Linked DNA regions of Homo sapiens: region 2 is linked to region 1. The links are contacts of gene promoters, found by promoter capture Hi-C in blood cells and fetal thymus (Javierre and others, 2016). All regions are on one chromosome and are shown on one strand. Each heading gives the region's core, a stretch centred on a gene start or on the middle of the fragment in contact. The rest is flanking DNA. Distances are from core to core; before and after follow the strand shown. Region 1 holds the start of DNMBP-AS1 (DNMBP antisense RNA 1). Region 2 has its middle 22 kb from the start of DNMBP.

Region 1 (4,065 bases), core at 608-3,107:
CATTTATAAAATAAATGGGTTGTATTTAAGTGTTTTTCAAACATTTTTTACTGTGACCCACACTTTATTTTTTATTTTATTTTTTTGAGACACAGTTTCACTCTGTCGCCCAGGCTGGAGTGCAGTGGCACAATCTCAGCTCACTGCAACCTCCACCTCCTGGGTTCAAGCGATTCTCCCGCCTCAGCCTCCGGAGTAGCTGGGACTACAGGCGCCCACCAACATGCCCAGCTAATTTTTGTATTTTTGTACACAGGGGGTTTCACCATGTTGGCAAGGCTGGTCTCAAACTCCTGACCTCAAGTGATCTGCCCACCTCGGCCTCCCAAAGTGCTGGTATTTCAGGCGTGAGCCACTGTGCCTGGCCTGACCCACACTTTAGGCTGTAACTCACATTTACATAATACATTTATGTCTATACACATACACATACACAAAGTATTACATGCTTACTTTTACTACATAGAATGTAGTATGAAAGTTTTTTCTATTTACTTTTATTTTTCAGAACTGCTGATTGCAACCCCCAAACAGACTTCAAGACCCAGTCATGAGTGGCTACCCATTATTTACAAAAACATGGGATTGTGGCTATATAAGCTTCCTTCCAGTAATAACATAAGAGGCTCCTATTTTGTAGCCTTCCAACCCTGAACCTTTAGCCCTCTCTAGTTTTGTTTAGAGCCCTCTCTAGTTTCATAGTTTTCTCTGTAAGAGCTCTTCATTTAGATATCCTAATATTATTTACATGCAAAACAGGTAACGTGGAATTTGAAACACCAGGTCCCCTTCTCATCATAACCATGTATGTTATTAGCAAGTGCAAAACCCTAGTGCCCACACTTGGTCTAGTAATGGTAGAGTAGCTCACATTGTACTAATCTCCCTACTTATAACTACCAAAAACACTTTACAAGATTTATTTTTTTAACTTTTATTTACTTTTATTTTTCTAGAGATGTGGTCTCACTCTGTCACCCAGGCTGCAGTATAGTGGCATCATCATAGCTCACTATAGCCTCGACCTGCCAGGCTCAAGTGATCCTCCCACCTCAGCCTTCTGACAGATATTTTAAAAAATAACTATATGCAGGCACTGAAAAGCAATCAAAAGCAGGCAGAATTTGGAGGGGATATGACTCAAAACAAGGGAAGCAAACTAGGTAAGATGCACCTGTCTCCAGTCCTCCCCTCAGGGCACTCCCTAGTCTTTTAGGACGCCGGGAAATAAAGCAAAAGAAGAAAGCCCACATGGGGCAATCTTACTGGGCTGAGCAGCCAAAGGTTCCAGTCTGGGGGCTCTGAAGACATTAGCTATTAAGGGGGAAATCCTGGAAAACAGTAAGCCACAGAGAGGAGAGCCCCAAAATCTGTGCAGAAATGCCTCTCAATCCTTCAACTGTGCATGCAGGTGATGAGACTCCAAGGAACCCCGTGGAAAGCTGGAGGCCAGAAGAGCCCAGCAGATAGATCTTCACCAACTGTCTGGCTCTGGGAAGACACAGTTTGAAATTTGAGTCCCTCCAAGTTAGGAGGTTCAATAAACACTTCCAGTTTTCTGTTGAAACCTCCGAAGGGCCACACCTTAGGAATAAGGCCCACCTCTCAGAACTAGAGGTCCACACCCTAGGACTAAGAGCAAACCCCTAACAGACCTGCCCTAAAAAAACCTCAGATGGAGGCCTCAGGAGAATGACTGATCAGGCCGGTGAGAAAGGAAAGCCTGGGGGAAAACTTGGCTTCCTGCCTGGGGGAGAGGCTGGAGAGCAGCCACTGAACAGAGCTCTGTCTCAGATGGAGGAGGGGTGGCAAGGGGAAGACGGGAGAAGAGGAAGGGACAGGACATTCCACTTAGACAATCAAACTTGAAGTGTTTACGGTCTAGGGTAGATGTCCAACAGGGAGCAGGGACTATCAATCTGGAACTCAGAGACGAAACCATGGAGTGACAGGTGGGTGGCGCAACTTATAAAGGGGAAGGGAGGTGGGCAGATAAAACACAAAGAAATGGCCATTTATGAGCACCTACTATGTTCCGGATATGTGACTGTTTTATTTTTCTATCTCATTATGAGAGAGGTATTATCTTCACTTTACAAATTGAGAATCCGAAGCTCCAAGAGGTTAAGTAATTTTTGTCAAGTTAAGGCCATTTAGTAAATGGTGGAGCTGAGATTTGAACTCAGGGCAGACCAACTCTGATGCTTGTTCCTTTGTGTAATTACACAGTGTTCCCTTGTAATATTCAGGAAGGGCAATGGCGTGAGAGAGCTAACAAAGAACGTTAGAATGCTGAAAGATTTCTAGTAAAGACAGAATTTGTTATAGGTCAAGAAGGATATTAGGGGTACAAAAAGGGGTGAACTAAATATGAATATACTTTCAAAAGTTAAGTCCTCAAAGATAAAGAGAGTTGTAGAAATGGAAATGATATTGGGTGGAACCGAGCTGGTTTCAGGGAGATCAGAGGGCACATTACAACACTGCAGAGAGAAGGGTTTCACTCCTGTTAAGTCAAACAGAATAAACACACTTTGATTACAGTTGGGAGGCTTAATACAATAAGGAACTAAACATAGGAAACAAAGTTCACCAAAGGAACAGATGCGGGGGGAAGGGAAGAGGAACAATACAAAAACCAATATAAAGAATCACAGAATCAGACTTTTTTCTTTTTTAGCTGGAAGGAATTTAGAAGTTATCCAGTCCCTATCATTTCAGAGAGAAAATGCACCTAGGAAAAAATGACTAGCTGCTAAAAACCTCAGCCTCCCAACTAAAGCTGGGTTTGGTTTCATTTTTGTCTTTATAGGTGCAGGTTAAGAGCCTGTTAGGTCCAAAATGGTGCCCCAGAAATTCAAGTTAAGTCAAGCCCATGTTGGAAGACCACCAGGTAAACCACCGGCCATCCCAGGACCATAGCAGGCTTATCTTTTCAGTCTGTGGTGGCCCCTAGTACAAATCTAACCAGCCAGCCCATTCTGAAGGAGACCTAGACGAGAAACTTTCTACTTAAGGGGAGGGCATGAGATGGATTTTTCAGATCATTCACATTCTCTGACTAACCTTTATCCTCTGGTCACAGCCTGGACCCCAAAATTGGCCAGAACCAGAAAGGCCGTTTGGCATGAAGACAACATACAGCATACACACACACGAAAGGTTTAACAGAGAGTTCAGTAATTATAAAAATAACACAGTAGAAATAAAGCTCACTTATGAGAACTGAAGAAAAGATATAATGGCAAGAAAGAAAGAACCTCTACATGATAAAAGACTCCTAATATTCTCATTTCACAGACAACGTAGTTAAGGCTCAGTGAGATGAAGTGATTTGAAAGCTAGAAATAATCTTCTGGAATCCACAAGAGTGTCAGTACTCATCATTCACTTAAGATTCCTGAATGTCAAGGAGTGAACAATCTATAAAACAAATCAGGGCTACTCTGGGCACACTGCCTATGGGGTAGCCCTGCTCTGAAAGGAGCGGTAAAAAAAAAAAATTAAAATGAAGGCCTGGCAATGGTGGCTTACACTTGTAATCCCAGTACTTTGGGAAGCAGAGGTGGGTGGTTCGCTCAAGCCCAGGAGTTCAAGATCAGCCTGGGCAACATGGTGAAACCCTGCCCCTACAAAAAAATAAAAAAGTAGCCGGGCATGGTGGCATGTACCCATAGTCCCAGCTACTCAGGAGGCTAAAGTGGGAGGATCTCTTGAGCCCAGGAGTTTGAGGCTGCAGTGAGCCATGACCGTGCCACTGTTCTCCAGCCAGGGGGACAGAATGAGATCTTGTTTCAAAAAAATAAATAAATAAAAATAAAGTCAAGTCTTCTTTTCCATTAATGTCCAAAGAAGTGTAGAGACTGAGAGAAAAAAAAAAAAACATGCCAGGAAAATGAATTTTAGCTTGATGCCCTGATAATAAACTTGCTGCCTCGACAAGATGAACAAAAACATGAAAGTAAGAAAGGAAAGATACTTGAGATTAGAGACATCTGAAAAAACCAGGAAGCGTAAATAAAAGTTCCCATGAGAGCGCTATCCGAATGTTGCATATTTTTAGCA
Region 2 (4,065 bases), core at 581-3,080, 100 kb after region 1:
ACTTTAGAAAGCCAGCACTTTGGGAGATGGGCAAATTGCTTGAGCCTAGGAGTTGAAGACAAGCCTGGGCAACATAGAGACTCTGACTCTATAAAAAACATACAAAAATATATTAGCTGGGCATGTGTGATGGTGCATGTCTCTAGTCCCAGCTACTTGGGAGGCTGAGATGGGAGGATTACCTGAGCCCAGGAGGTTGAGGCTGCAGTGAGCTGAGATAGCACCACTGCACTCCAGCCTGAGTGACAGAGTGAGAAGCTGTCTCAAAAAATAGATACACATATAAGATTAAGATTTCCTTGGTAAGGCCGGGTGTGGTCGTTCATGCCTGTAATCCCAGCACTTTAGGAGGCCGAGGCAGGCAGATCACGAGGTCAGGAGATTGAGACCAGCCTGGCCAACCTGGTGAAACCCTGTCTCTACTAAAAATACAAAAACTTAGCTGGGATTGGTGGCAGGTGCCTGTAGTCTCAGCTACTTGGGAGGCTGAGGCAGGAGAATTGCTTGAACCCAGGAGGTGGAGGTTGCAGTGAGCCGAGATCGTGCCATTGCACTCCAGCCTGGGCAACAAGAGCAAAACTCCGTCTCAAAAAAAAAAAAAAAAAAAAAAAAAAAGATTGCCTTGGTCAAAGTTATTGCAGACTGATGACAATCAGATCCATCTCTAGTGGAAAACATAAATTGAATCCTCATGAAATAGTCACTGAAAAGCCTATGCTCTTAATCATAGAACCCCATGTATCTTCTGCTCCTAAACTCTAAAATGGCTAAATGCTTTAACACTTTAATGCATTATGGCCGGGCGCAGTGGCTCACGCCTGTAATCCCAGCACTTTGGGAGGCCAGGGCGGGCGGATCACCTGAGGTCAGGAGTTTGAGACCAGCCTGGCCAGCATGGTGAAACCCCATCTCTACTAAAAATACACAAATTAGCCAGGCATGGTGGCAAGCACCTGTAATCCCAGCTACTCAGGAGGCTGAGGCAGGAGAATCGCTTGAACCTGGGAGGTGGAGGTTGTGGTGAGCTGATATCGTGCCACTGCACTCCAGCCTGGGTGACAGAGCAAGACTTCATCTGGAAAACAAACAAAAAAACCACAAACAAACAAAAAAAAACTTTAATGCATTATGCCAAAAGTGTGTTTTCATCAGGTTAAGAAAGCTTTTCATGGTCTACTCACTGATCAAACTCTTCACAACCTAGGACTAAAAGATGGGTTCTTCTGAGAACATTAGAGAAAGACTGCCCTTGTCACCCACATTGCAGCAAAACTTCTAAACCTTAAACTTTAGGTTCCTAATCTCACAACTCAGAAGGGTCCCTCCAGATTCTTAGAACTATCCCCCTTTGGGGACCTTAATGTAAATCTGGCTGGGCATGCTGGCTCATGCCTATAATCCCAGCACTTTGGGAGGCTGAGGTGGGAGGACTGCTTGAGCCCAGGAGTTCAAGACCAGCCTGAGCAACATAGTGGGACTCTGTCTCTACAAAAACTTTAAAAGGCCGGACGCGGTGGCTCACGCCTATAATCCCAGCACTTTGGGAGGCCGAGGCAGGTGGATCACGAGGTCAGGAAATCGAGACCATCCTGGCTAACACCGTGAAACCCCGTCTCTACTAAAAATACAAAAAATTGGCTGGGCGTGGTGGCGGGCGCCTATAGTCCCAGCTACTCAGGAGGCTGAGGCAGGAGTATGGCGTGAACCCGGGAGGTGGAGCTTGCAGTGGGCTGAGATTGCGCCACGGCACTCCAGCCTGGGCGACAGAGCGAGACTCCGTTTCAAAAAAAAAAACTTTAAAAAAGTAGCCAGGCATAGTGGCACGCTCCTGTAATCCCAGAACTTTGGGAGGCTGAGGCAGGCTAATACCTTGATCTCAGGAGTTCAAGACCACTCTGGTCAACATGGTGAAACCCTATCTCTACAAAAAATACAAAAATTAGCCAGGCACAATGGTACGCACCTGTAGTCCCAGCTACTCGGGAGGCTCAGATGGGAAGATTGCTGCAGCCCAGGAGTTCGAGGCTGCAGTGAGCTGGGATTGTGTCACTGCACACCAGCCTGAGCGACAGAGCAAATAAGACTCTGTTTCAAAAAAAAAAAAGAAAGAAAGAAAGAAAAGAAAAGAAAGAAAGAAATCTACCCAGGGAAGTTTCTCCCTATAAGCAGACAGCATCTTAGATGTAGACAGCTATTTCCCAGGATCACAGATCAAGACTCCTCTGGTATCATGAGACTGTTATCTCTCAGTTTTTTCCTTGCTTATGCCTCTATGAACAATAGAACTGAAAAAGAGGTATCTTGTGTGCACTCACAGGGTATACTTTTATTTGTACATGGACAAACTTATCTCTTGATACATGGAAGATAAGGAGGCAACATGGGCAAGAAATTTTAATACCCTTGTTGGTCCATAATCAGTCAGAAACAGAACATTGGACTTCTCTTAGGGGTTAAGAGAACACTTTTGTTTTTGTTTCCCTTCAGAATTCAATATGAAAGCTTAAAGCTGCCTTCTTACATATTTTAAGTTCAGCCTAAAGGTTTTTTTGTACATAGTGAACTGTAACCAAAATGTGTAAATGGGCTGTAACCTTACTGTTATACCAATCATTGAGTTTTGACCAATCAAAGGTGGGCAACTGTTTAAACTGTGTTCAAATAAGGCAAATATCAAACTATATACAATCCAGCTGCTTCTGTACGTCCACTTCTGCTTTATGTACATCACTTTCCTTTTTCTGTCCATAAAATTTAGACCACACAGCAGCGACAGAGTCTCCCTGAACTTATTCTGGTTTGGGTGCTACCTGGTTCACAAATCATTCTTTGCTCAATTAAAAATTGTTAAATTTAATCTAAGGTTTTTTTTTTTTTTTTGAAATAACAGAAAATGTAGGTTTTTCTTTTTCTTTTTTTTTTTTTCTTTGAGACACAGTCTCGTTCTATGGCCCAGGCTGGAGTGCAGTGGTGCGATCTCGGCTCACTGCAGCCTCTGCCTCCTGGGTTCAAGCAATTCTCATGCCTCAGCCTCCCTAGTAGCTGGGATTACAGGCATGAGGCACCACACCTGGCTAATTTTTGTATTTTTAGTAGAGATGGGGTTTCACCATGTTGGTCAGGCTGGTCTCGAACTCCTGACCTCATGATACACCCGCCTCAGCCTCCCAAAGTGTTGGGATTACAGGCGTGAGCCACCGCACCCAGCCGAGGTTTTTCTTAATTAAGAAAACTTTTTTTAATTGAGACGAGGTCTATGTTGCCCAGGTTGGTCTTGAACTCCTGAACTCAAGCAGTTCTCCTGACTCAGCCTCCCAAAGCACTGGAATTACAGGTGCGAGCCACTACACTTGACCTGTCTAAGGTTTTTCTTTTAATAGGTCACAATATCACACTGTGAATTCATTTCTGGGATCTTTAACAGAAATAAACTTGATTTCCTTGTATTGAGACCTTACCATTTTAGAAATTTTTTCTTTTTGAGACTGGTTCTTGCTCTGTCACCCAGGCTGGGGTGCAGTGGCATGATGGTAGCTCACTGCAGCCTTGACCTCCTGGGCTCAAGTGATCCTCCCACCTCAGCTTCCCAAGTAGCTGGGACTACAGACATGCATCACCACACCTGGCTTTTTCATGTTTTTTTGTAGAGACAGTGGGCTCACTACGCATGTTTCTCTCTTCCTGATTTCTCCAAAATTTGGAAACTAGTTGTGAGTATTCTTAACTTATGGCAATATAGTTATTTGCATAAGTGCAATAAGAATCTGTTTTCTTTTGTAACAAGACACAATTGGAGACACTGGTTAAATTTTACCAAGGTTTGGACTGGAATGGTATGCCTTCAGATGCAGACTCCTTTAAGGAATCAAAGTTGACTTATAGAGCCAATGAACCAATAAAAGCCCCTTGGGACAGCTGGCCTCATGCCTTATCTACATAGTCCCTGCACAGGTTCCTCGCCTATGGTATGTATGGAATGTCACTTTCTGACAGGCCCAGGAGCCCCAAGTTTTCTTGGGACCTTGAAGTGAGGAATTCACCCAATTATTACTGGTATTTGCAGGC

The links. The method cuts DNA at HindIII sites, captures the fragments that hold promoters and counts their contacts. A CHiCAGO score of 5 or more calls a contact.
Region 2: a contact is called between a fragment that was not itself captured here and the fragment with the promoter of DNMBP-AS1 in region 1, in 2 of 17 cell types (naive B cells and total B cells). The highest score is 5.9, in naive B cells.

What each region holds. Positions count from the first base shown.
Region 1 is chr10:99,925,348-99,929,412 of GRCh38, forward strand. It overlaps DNMBP-AS1 (DNMBP antisense RNA 1), which reads left to right and starts at 1,858. Exons shown (of 5, transcript NR_024130.3): 1 at 1,858-1,952; 2 at 2,813-2,893. All of the region lies in intron 4 of DNMBP (dynamin binding protein), which reads right to left. The HindIII fragment of the contact is 7,506 bases long and covers 599-4,065 here.
Region 2 is chr10:100,030,000-100,034,064 of GRCh38, forward strand. No RefSeq gene overlaps it. Among named protein-coding and RNA genes, the nearest start is that of DNMBP, 22 kb to the left of the region's middle. The HindIII fragment of the contact is 1,340 bases long and covers 1,161-2,500 here.